Linked DNA regions of Homo sapiens: all the other regions are linked to region 1. Evidence: promoter capture Hi-C in 16 types of primary human blood cells and fetal thymus (Javierre and others, 2016). All regions are on one chromosome and are shown on one strand. Each heading gives the region's core, a stretch centred on a gene start or on the middle of the fragment in contact. The rest is flanking DNA. Distances are from core to core; before and after follow the strand shown.

Region 1 (2,977 bases), core at 339-2,838:
TTATTCTGCAGTTTTCTATCAGTGTCGGGTCCCCCACTCCAGCCAGTGGCTGTGGGGAAGGGAAGACATCTCTAGGGACACGACTACAGACCAGGCAGTGAGCCTAGCAACCATACATCGAAGGTGTCGCCAGCCTCAGTGCCGGTGGGCGTCTGCACCAGGAATAGCTAAAGCCGACGACATCTAGCCACCTCGAGCGCCAGGGAAGACGCTCCGCGTAAAACCGCGGCCTCAGGCGGACTCCCGCTCCAGCTCCGCGCTGCTGGTGGCATTTCCGGGGACCCAAAGTGGGTGGCCTGGGGGCAAAGGAACAGAGGCCGAAGAACTTGGGGTATGTTCCACTAGAGCACCTAAGGGACGGAGTGGGAGGTTACATCAGATATGCGACCTCGACACATTCCAAAAGTGGCAGCCCCGTGGGCTACCCCCAATAGTGGGATGGATCTCCCCAACTTCTCTCGCCCCTCGAAGTCCCCCTGTTATCTCGGGCCATGCTCCTCCCCCGGGATTCCCTTGTGCAAAATTATTCTCTCCCTTGCCCAAAGGATTTTTCCCTTCTTTCTGACCCCACGAACTCATCTCCCCAACAGGTTCCTAAAGTATGGGCGGATGTGCTCCCTCTCGCCCACCGCCAGGAGCCGAGCCCCGGCAGGTGAGCGGTGCAAAACACGCACCCAGCTGCCCCCAGCTTCCTCCGTCCCCGCTGAGTTGGCTGTCCCCACCCCGCACCACGGCACCCGAGCCTGTGAGTCCCCGACCCCGGCCCCAGCCGCAGCCGCCAACAACCCTACAATAAACAAGAGGACAGGATTGAGCGTCCGCGTCCCGGAGCGCACTGGCTGGGGGCAACTCCTCACCCCCGGCGCGCCGCCCGCTGCCCCGATCCGAGAGCACCGGGAGAGCCGAGGGAAGGGAAGGCGGCGAGGGGAAGGCAGGCGGGGATGGAGGGAGGCACGGCGCGGCGCGGAGCGAGGAGGTGGGCTGCAGGGGACGCCGAGAAGCGGTGGGGCTGGCGCAGAGGGCGGGCGCCCGGGGCGCGCGTTACCTTCGTCTTGCCCCCGCAGTGGCAGCACACGGTCCACAGGTACTTGAGCGTCCGCCAGAGCAAGATGATGAAGAGGCCCCCGAAGAAAGTCACCATGGAGGAGGCCAGGAAAGCCCACCACATGCGTTGGCCCCGGCTGTCGCACGGCACCTCCATGGTCACCGGGATGATGAGCGCATCCATCTTGGGCTCGTGGACCGAGGACGAGGAGGAAGAGGAGGAGGAAGAAGAAGAAGAGGAAGAGGAGGAGGAGGAGGAGGAGGACGCGTCTAGGCTGAGATGGTTCGCGTGGATATTGCTACTCATTCTAAGACTGCTGCCTCCGCCGCCGCCGCCGCCGCCGCTGCTGCCGCCGCCGCCGCCGCCACCATTTGCCATAGCTAGCAACGGGCAGCCGGCGCAGGGGCTCGGGGGAGCTCCTCCCGCCGCCAGCGCCACCCCAAACACCCATCAACAGCCATATTGCTGCTACTGCTGCCGCCGCCGCCGCCGCCGCGGAGCGCGGGAGGGGGGCGGGGAGGCGCCTGGGCTCGGGGCGCTGTGCGCGACCTGGCGGGGTGCGCCGAGATATATACAGCGAGCCGCCGCCGCCCGCCCGGGGGGGAGGGGGATGGAGTGCGCGGGCAGCTCCCCCTCCCCGGCCCGCGCCCCGCTCGCCCCGGGCTGCGCTGGCCCCGAGCGCCGAGAGCCAGGGGGCGCCGCGGGCCGCCCGCGCCCGGGGTCTGCGCCGCCCCCGGGCCCGCCCCGGCTCCGCGCGCGGTCCCGGGTGTCCTCGGCGCCGCGCCGCCCGCCGTGCGCCACGGGTGTGCGCTGCGCTCGGCCGGTGACCCCCTTCCCCGAGCGCCTCCCGCGCGGCTAACGAGCCGCTCTCCGCTTATTAGGTGGTAACTCGTTAATAATGGATAATCGGCCCCCTCCGCCCGGGCGCCCCTGCGCCAGCCCTCCTCCCCCGGCTGCGCTCGGCTCCGGCTCGCCGCGCCAGTGCGCGCCCGGCCGCGGCAGGTTCACCGCGTCCGGCCGCCGGCCCGTGGCCGCCTGCTAGCCCATGTTCTCGGGACCCCCTAGTCCTGTCGCCACGCCGCTGAGCCCCTCGGCCTCCGCTCGCTCTTCCTCCTTGCCGCCTCCGACTCCTCCTCGTCCCCGTCCTCGCCGCCCAAGCCTCTTCGGCGCGCGCCCCGCGCTCCCCGCAGCCGCCAGCAGCAGCAGCTGCAGCAACTGGAGCGGGCGCGGACTCAGGACGACCCAGGCGGGAGGGGAGGAGGCTCGCCGCGCTGGCTCGCCTGGGCTCCGGGCTGGGCAGGGGTGGGCAGGGCCCCTCGGCAGCGGCCCGGCAAGCGCCCCTGACCCCCAGGGCGCAAGGTAGAGCGCCCCCAGCCCAGGCGCGGGGCCAGGCGCCTCTCTCCAAGGTGCTGCGCCCCCAGCCGAGAGCGGTGGGGTACACTGGGAGGACGGCGGGGCGCCCCGGTCAGGCCGTTTTTTTCCCCAAAGAGCCCCCAGTGGGGAGGGGAGGAGTGGCCAGCTGTCAACTGGATTCCACAGGCTGAGCTCCCCAGGACCCTCGGGCTTCGGGAGTGAGGAGGACCCCACGCCAGGATACACACAGCTACCCACCCCTACTTCGCTCTTCCTGCTACCTATGTGCCCAGGGTCCCGCGTGTGGCTGGAGGGTAGAGTCAGGAAGGCCAGCGGGTGGTCTGTGGCCTCTGACAGCAGCAGGTGGTTTCTCTCCTTTTTCCTTATTAGCAACAGAGGCTGCCCAACAAAGAGTAGGCAGAAATGATCAAGGACGACCTGGCCTGGGGATAGTGCAGGCCCCGATAGACAATAGAGTTCCCTGAAGGGTTGCTTTCCTCTCATATAGTCTCAGACTCCATCCATCCCGTGAGGAGGGCAGATGGGGGAAGAGGGACTCCAGACTTCATTCTGGCTCAC
Region 2 (2,977 bases), core at 332-2,831, 600 kb before region 1:
TATTGTTTTAGCGCAGCGCATAATTACAGAAACTGCTCTGAAAATCTGTATATTTTATCTGTGCTTTATGATACCCAGAATATTCCCCAATTCTTTTTCTTCTTCGTGAACCAGCTTAAAATATATTTTGGCATCCTTTATGTCATTTTGAAATTGAATAGCCAATTCTTACTGTAATGAAAATACTTATGTGCCAGCCCAGTGATATACAACACTACACTCTAATTACGGCTGTGCTTTAATTAACCTGAATTGAAGAGTGTTATCATTAAACTGCTGGTAACTTTGAGTTATGGCTTTTCTTTAATTTAAAGTAGAAAACACAGATAATTAAGCCTCCAGATAATCAAATGCTTGAGGAGAGCTTCAATGTTTTGGGATGTTCCTAAATCTCATTAAATGTCCTTCTTTTATTGATCATTTCTACCTCTGCTGTATCATTGTATTAAACGAATAATAGCACTAAGTTGTACACATTCTCACTCACATCAGAAGTGGAATATATATATATTCCAGAAACTTTACTGAGCAAATACTAAATTATCTGACAACAATTTGTCTCCTTCTTGGGACATGTTCTAAATACAAAAATCAATCAAAGGGAATATTCACAGAGCCACTAGTGCCAGCTCTTGAGCTGGCTGAAGGCCAGTGAAGTTCCACACCACCCAGTGGGTCAGGGTTGGCAAACTCACACAACCACAGGGCCAGGCCTGGGATTTATGTGCAAATCTGGCCTGGTTTAAGATATCAGGGAGGAGTAACTACATGACTATACTAACCCCTTTGCTACATCAAACTGGAGCCAGTTAGCATTCTGAGGAAATGCAGGTCTTGCATTGTCACATTAGATTTTCTAAAGAATCCAGAAATCTAGTTTTTACGTGACATACTACTATTTGGAAATATCAGCAACTAGTTGATATCTACGTGAGTCAAACATACCTAGTGACTATCCCAGTTAGAGCCTGTAGGGGGAGCAGTCCTGACCCTTCAAGTTACCCATAAGAGGAACGGACTCAGTTCCCAAGAGCAGAGTAAGAGAAGGGTGGAAAAGCAAGAAGGGCCTGGGGGTTGGGGAGGGAGCACTCTTGTTAGATACAAACACCAGTTAGGCCAGGGAAACCCTACAGCCAAGGAAGGGGGCTTGACGGAGCCCCTGCTGACACCCTCACCAACATAAGACTCCCGCAGGCGCTGGCAGCTCTGCTATGTGCTCAGACCACCACCACATTAGACAGCCAAGGCTTCAATTGCCTTTTTATAAAACTAGCTTCTGTTAAAAAGCCTGCTTTCCCCCGGGGCTTTGTATCCTAGGCAGACCAAGCTCCAGGGAGGGGGAGATCCCCTGGGACAGCCTCAGTGTTCCAGGACCCAATGCCTCTGAATGCTTAACTCCTCTCAGTGGCAGGAAGAGAAATAGCTCTCAAAGAAAGGCACACATGGGAGTCACAATAGGGCATCCATTTTCAGAAAATAACTCCTTCCGAATCAATTACCTATTCACTTTTCCAGTCCATTTAGCATTAAAACTTTCGCTTAGAGACAGGGTGAGAAATTTCAGTAAACAGCCAAACCATTTTGGATTGCTTAGGGTCTGGGCCCAGGGACTGACAGAGTGCACCTGCTGTGTTCAGTGACAGGAGGCTCCAGGTAAACACGAAGCCACCAAGCGCTCCGCCTCCCTCCCTCCTGCATACAGAAAGAAAACCGTGATACAGAGGAGGCCAAGGGCACCCAGGACTGTCCCCTCCTTTGTGGTAAAGCCTGATCAGTTTTGTTTCGATGTCTTCAGACCTCTCTTTTGGTTTGTATGTAGGCAGGAAGTGCAAGCAAATGGCTTTTCTTCCTCAGCCCAGTGAGCTCCCAGATACCCCTGTTTCTTCCCAGTGAGAAGAATCCTTGTCAAATCCTTTGCTAAGGTGTCAGGAGAATAGGCTTAATGTTTCACCAACCTCAGGGAGTTTGTGTTTTCAGAGGGCACAAAGACCCCGTTCATCTTAAACTCAACATCTGAGATTTTTTATTATTATTATTTTAGAGATACAATCACTGCTATCCAGGCTGGAATGCAGTTGCGTAATCAACCTCCTGGGCAGCCTCAACCTCCTGGGCTCAAGCAATCCTTCTACCCCAGCCTCTAGAGTAGCTAGGACCATACGTGTGTGCCACCACACTCGGCTAATTTTCCTTATTTTTTGTAGAGATAAAGTCTCACTGTGTTGCCCAGGCTAGTCTTGAATGCCTAGCCTCAAGTGATCCTCTCACCTCAGCTTCTAAAAGTGGTGGGATTGCAAACATGAGGATTCTAAGTGAGGAATCTGAGGCACTGTCATGCCTCACGGCAGACACCTGGAGCTCTTGAGGTCATCCCCCATAGGTGACCATCTATTCTACCTGCAGTGGCCATGGCGGGTGGCTTTGATCCATCCTGCTGAGCCAGTGGAAAGAGAAGCTAAGACTTGTTATTATTATAACATGGCAGTTGTCTATGTGGGGGCTCAAGGCCTCCTTCTGTATATTTGGTTCCACATTTCCTCAGCAAAGGGTGAAAACACTTTGAATGGCTTTATTTCAGTAGCTTCTCTGTTGTCTCTATGATCAGACTTGATGGGAAGACAGATTAAAATTCCTTTCATTGAGGGGCTGGCAAGATTTGTTTTGCCCTCTTAGAATCAGACAGGCAGGGGTTTATGCCACTCTTCATAAATGTGTCTACATCACAGAAGGCATGCAGGATAACTGTAGTTCATAAGTTAGCATAAATGATGAATTCAAGTCCAAGACTCTCAGGCCTGTCAAGAAAAGTGGGGCCAGTGGAAATTCCCCAGGCAGAGGCCATGTAATGACCCACCCTCCTATTCATCACATGGGGCCGAGCACACGGGATACCCTCGGCAATTGTCAAGTGCTCCAACTGTACCCAGCAGAGGTGGGAGGCTTCCTTGCAAGGGGCACATTCAATATCCCTGAAAGC
Region 3 (2,977 bases), core at 143-2,642, 520 kb before region 1:
CAAGCAAAAGATGCAAGGTTAACCCCTGGTGGGCATTCTCCACAGTCTGAAATGTGAACCTTGCCAGGTTAAGTAGGGCTCCTTGGGAAGAAAGAGTGAGGCACGCCAGGAGCAGGGCTGTGTGCTCTGCATAGCAAAGGTTATATATCTCTGTGTGGAGATAGTCATAGCCTTCCTGGTCAAGCCCAGGGATCTGGGCCAAACACGAAGCTACCAGCGGTTAGAATGATTTGAACCATTCAGATTCTAGCCTGCTTCCTAAGCTTTGAGGGAGATTATGATCTTATCATCAACACCTGATCCAACTAAAGTCAATCATTCTCATGTTGCCTATACAATTCCTGAGTCTCCATCCCATGAGTTCTAATTCACATCGATGGACACAGTGAATCATGATAGGTCAGGCACAGGATTCTTGTAGATTAGAGACCTCTTCCAAGAAACTGTGGATGCTGCAAGAGAAGGTCTGGCTCCAGAGATTACAGCTGTAAACCCAGAGCTTCTGGGGCCTCCTTTGTCCTCTATATGTTTAACAAGACATGTTTCAGTTAACACAGAAAATGCCATGCACTTTGTACAAAGAAGTGTACGTTTGTCCCTGTTCTGCTTGTCTCTAATTTTTCTCTTTGTTTCTGGTACTGCCAGGTGCTGCTGGCCTTGTTTGTTTTACTGCTCTCTTTGCTGGACAGATGTAAAATACCCACCCCCTAAAAAGTTAACTGGACTGCACCACACTAACATAAATGGTCTGAATGACAACATGAGTGGAACAAAGTGAAATTCTGCCAATTCAATCCCTTAATTATCTCTAGATCCCTTCTTCTTTCTCTGCCCCAATTTGCACTGCCTAAGGCCATGCCCTAATACCTCTTCCCTGGACTACTGCCTCCTAATTGGTCTTATGGTCTATGAGGTCTTTGATGCTTCAACCCCATTCTCTATACAACTGTTGGAATAGTGGATCTTTCTAAAATGTCAGTCTAACCACATTTCCTCTCCTGATTAAAATCCTTCAACAGCTCTCATTTGTTCTCAGTAAAGTCCATGAATCTAAGAACCTGCATGATTTGGCCTCTCCCTGCACATCTCTTGCAGTCTCCATATAGAATACTCTTCTTTACAAACTTTATCTTGGAGCCATTTCTAAGTTCATGTCAGTAGTAATGTTTTAGTTTCAAAAACGCCTCCCAAAACCATATTGGTTAGGTACACGATGACTCATGCATATCATGGAATGCTATGTGAGAAACAAAAGGTGACATAGTAGATGTAATCATTATCTCAAAGTAGTGTGATGTGGAGGCAATTTTACTTTATCCTATGTGATTTTGTGTGTTGTTGCAATGTTTACCATGAACATATTTTCAAAATTAGAGGAAACAGGCTGGGCACAGTGGCTCACACCTGTAATCCCAGCACTTTGGGAGGCCAAAGTGGGCAGATCACCTGAGGTCAAAAGTTCGAGACCAGCGTGGCCAACACGGTGAAACCCTGTCTCTACTAAAAATACAAAAAGTAGCCAGGTGTGGTGGCAGGCACCTGTAATCCCAGCTACTCGGGAGGCTGAGGCAGGAGAATGGCTTGAACCCTGGAGACGGAGGTTGCAGTGAGCTGAGATCACGCCCAGCCTGGACAACAGAGCAAGAGTCTATCTCAAAAAAAAAAAAAAAAAAAAAAAAAAGAAAAGAAAAGAAAAGAAAAATTAGAGGAAACAATAAGGAAATTCCCATTTTGGAAAAAATTGCTGAGTGATCCATGTTTTAGTCATCAATATTTACCACAGTCAATGAGATGTGGAATTACAGCCTTTAAACACAGCTGCTGACTTTCCTCTGACAGTAGAATAAGTGTTCTAGCACCTGTGTGTTAGATCTCCAGTTTGCAGGGCAACTGAGAAACTGCCAAAACCTCAGATAGTGAGAGGGAGTCTCCTTGTCTCCCCTTTAATTGGCCGTTTCAGGCTATGGAGTATTCTAGGCCCCCTATGGGCTTGCAGTTTGGGAAAGGGCCCTGATGCTGGTCACATAATTGTGATTTGCCCATTTCATCCCATGCACTTTAATTTTCCTTCTGCTGCATTCTTAATTCTTTATCAATCTTTCTGCCCACCTTATGCTTCTCTGCCTTATTTCTTTCAGCTCTTGGCCCAGTGAGGCAGCCAAAGTACTGGAAATGAAACAGCAACTCCAAATCATTATTTCAAATTGCATTGCAAAGCCTCCATCCCTGCCTAATGCCACAGATTGGCAGGAATTCACCGCCAAAGAGAGCCAGACAAAATCTCCCTAAAGACGATTACATGGGTCCCCCAACCCACCCTTCTGGAAGGACCGCTATGAAAGCAGCAGAGTATGGAAGAGTCACAGGAGAATCGCTCAAAAGTCCAAAACCCTACAAAAGCCAAGGCTGCACTTTCTCTGGGACAGAACTTTGGGATCCACACTTGGGGATGCCCAAAAGGAAGGAGCCAAGATTAGCCAGGCTGGCACCTGGAGAGAGAATGGCCTCAGAGAGTTGTCCTAAAGCTTCTAGATTTCTTACAATTACATGACGTTTGCTTCTGTGCCTGGTGACCTGGCCTTTCCTACCCTCTTAACCTCATCCTCCTCTTTCCATCACAGAACGCTTAATGTCCAGGAGTGCAGAATTACCCAAAGTTTCCCCAAGTGTTATGCTCTCACACCAGTGTGCTGTTAGCATCTTCCTTGATTAGAAGTCAACCCCCACCCTACCCCTCACATGCCCAGCCCCATGAGGATGACACTTTTTTCTACAAGGCTTACCTAAAAGTAACCTTCTCCTCGAAAAGATCCTTGACTGCCCTGCAACTCAGGCTAAGCCCAGCTTAGTTACTCCCCTCTCAACCCCTGGGCATGCTGACATCAGCATTAACCACACCGTCAGGTGGCCTGGCCCCCTACGCAGCAAGTTCTCTGACAGCAGGACTCCTAGCATGCACCTTGCTGCTGATACCAAT

What was found. The method cuts DNA at HindIII sites, captures the fragments that hold promoters and counts their contacts. A CHiCAGO score of 5 or more calls a contact.
Region 2: a fragment that was not itself captured here is called in contact with the fragment with the promoter of KCNMA1 in region 1 in 1 of 17 cell types (total CD8 T cells); the score reaches 5.4 in total CD8 T cells.
Region 3: a fragment that was not itself captured here is called in contact with the fragment with the promoter of KCNMA1 in region 1 in 2 of 17 cell types (naive CD8 T cells and total CD8 T cells); the score reaches 5.3 in naive CD8 T cells.

The regions. Positions count from the first base shown.
Region 1 is chr10:77,636,220-77,639,196 of GRCh38, forward strand. It overlaps KCNMA1 (potassium calcium-activated channel subfamily M alpha 1), which reads right to left and starts at 1,589. Exons shown (of 28, transcript NM_001161352.2): 1 at 1,046-1,589. The coding sequence starts at 1,423. The HindIII fragment of the contact is 4,792 bases long and covers 1-2,977 here.
Region 2 is chr10:77,036,522-77,039,498 of GRCh38, forward strand. The region is part of intron 15 of KCNMA1 (potassium calcium-activated channel subfamily M alpha 1); the gene reads right to left. Among named protein-coding and RNA genes, the nearest start is that of KCNMA1-AS2, 100 kb to the right of the region's middle. The HindIII fragment of the contact is 4,998 bases long and covers 1-2,977 here.
Region 3 is chr10:77,115,885-77,118,861 of GRCh38, forward strand. The region is part of intron 6 of KCNMA1 (potassium calcium-activated channel subfamily M alpha 1); the gene reads right to left. Among named protein-coding and RNA genes, the nearest start is that of KCNMA1-AS2, 23 kb to the right of the region's middle. The HindIII fragment of the contact is 2,262 bases long and covers 262-2,523 here.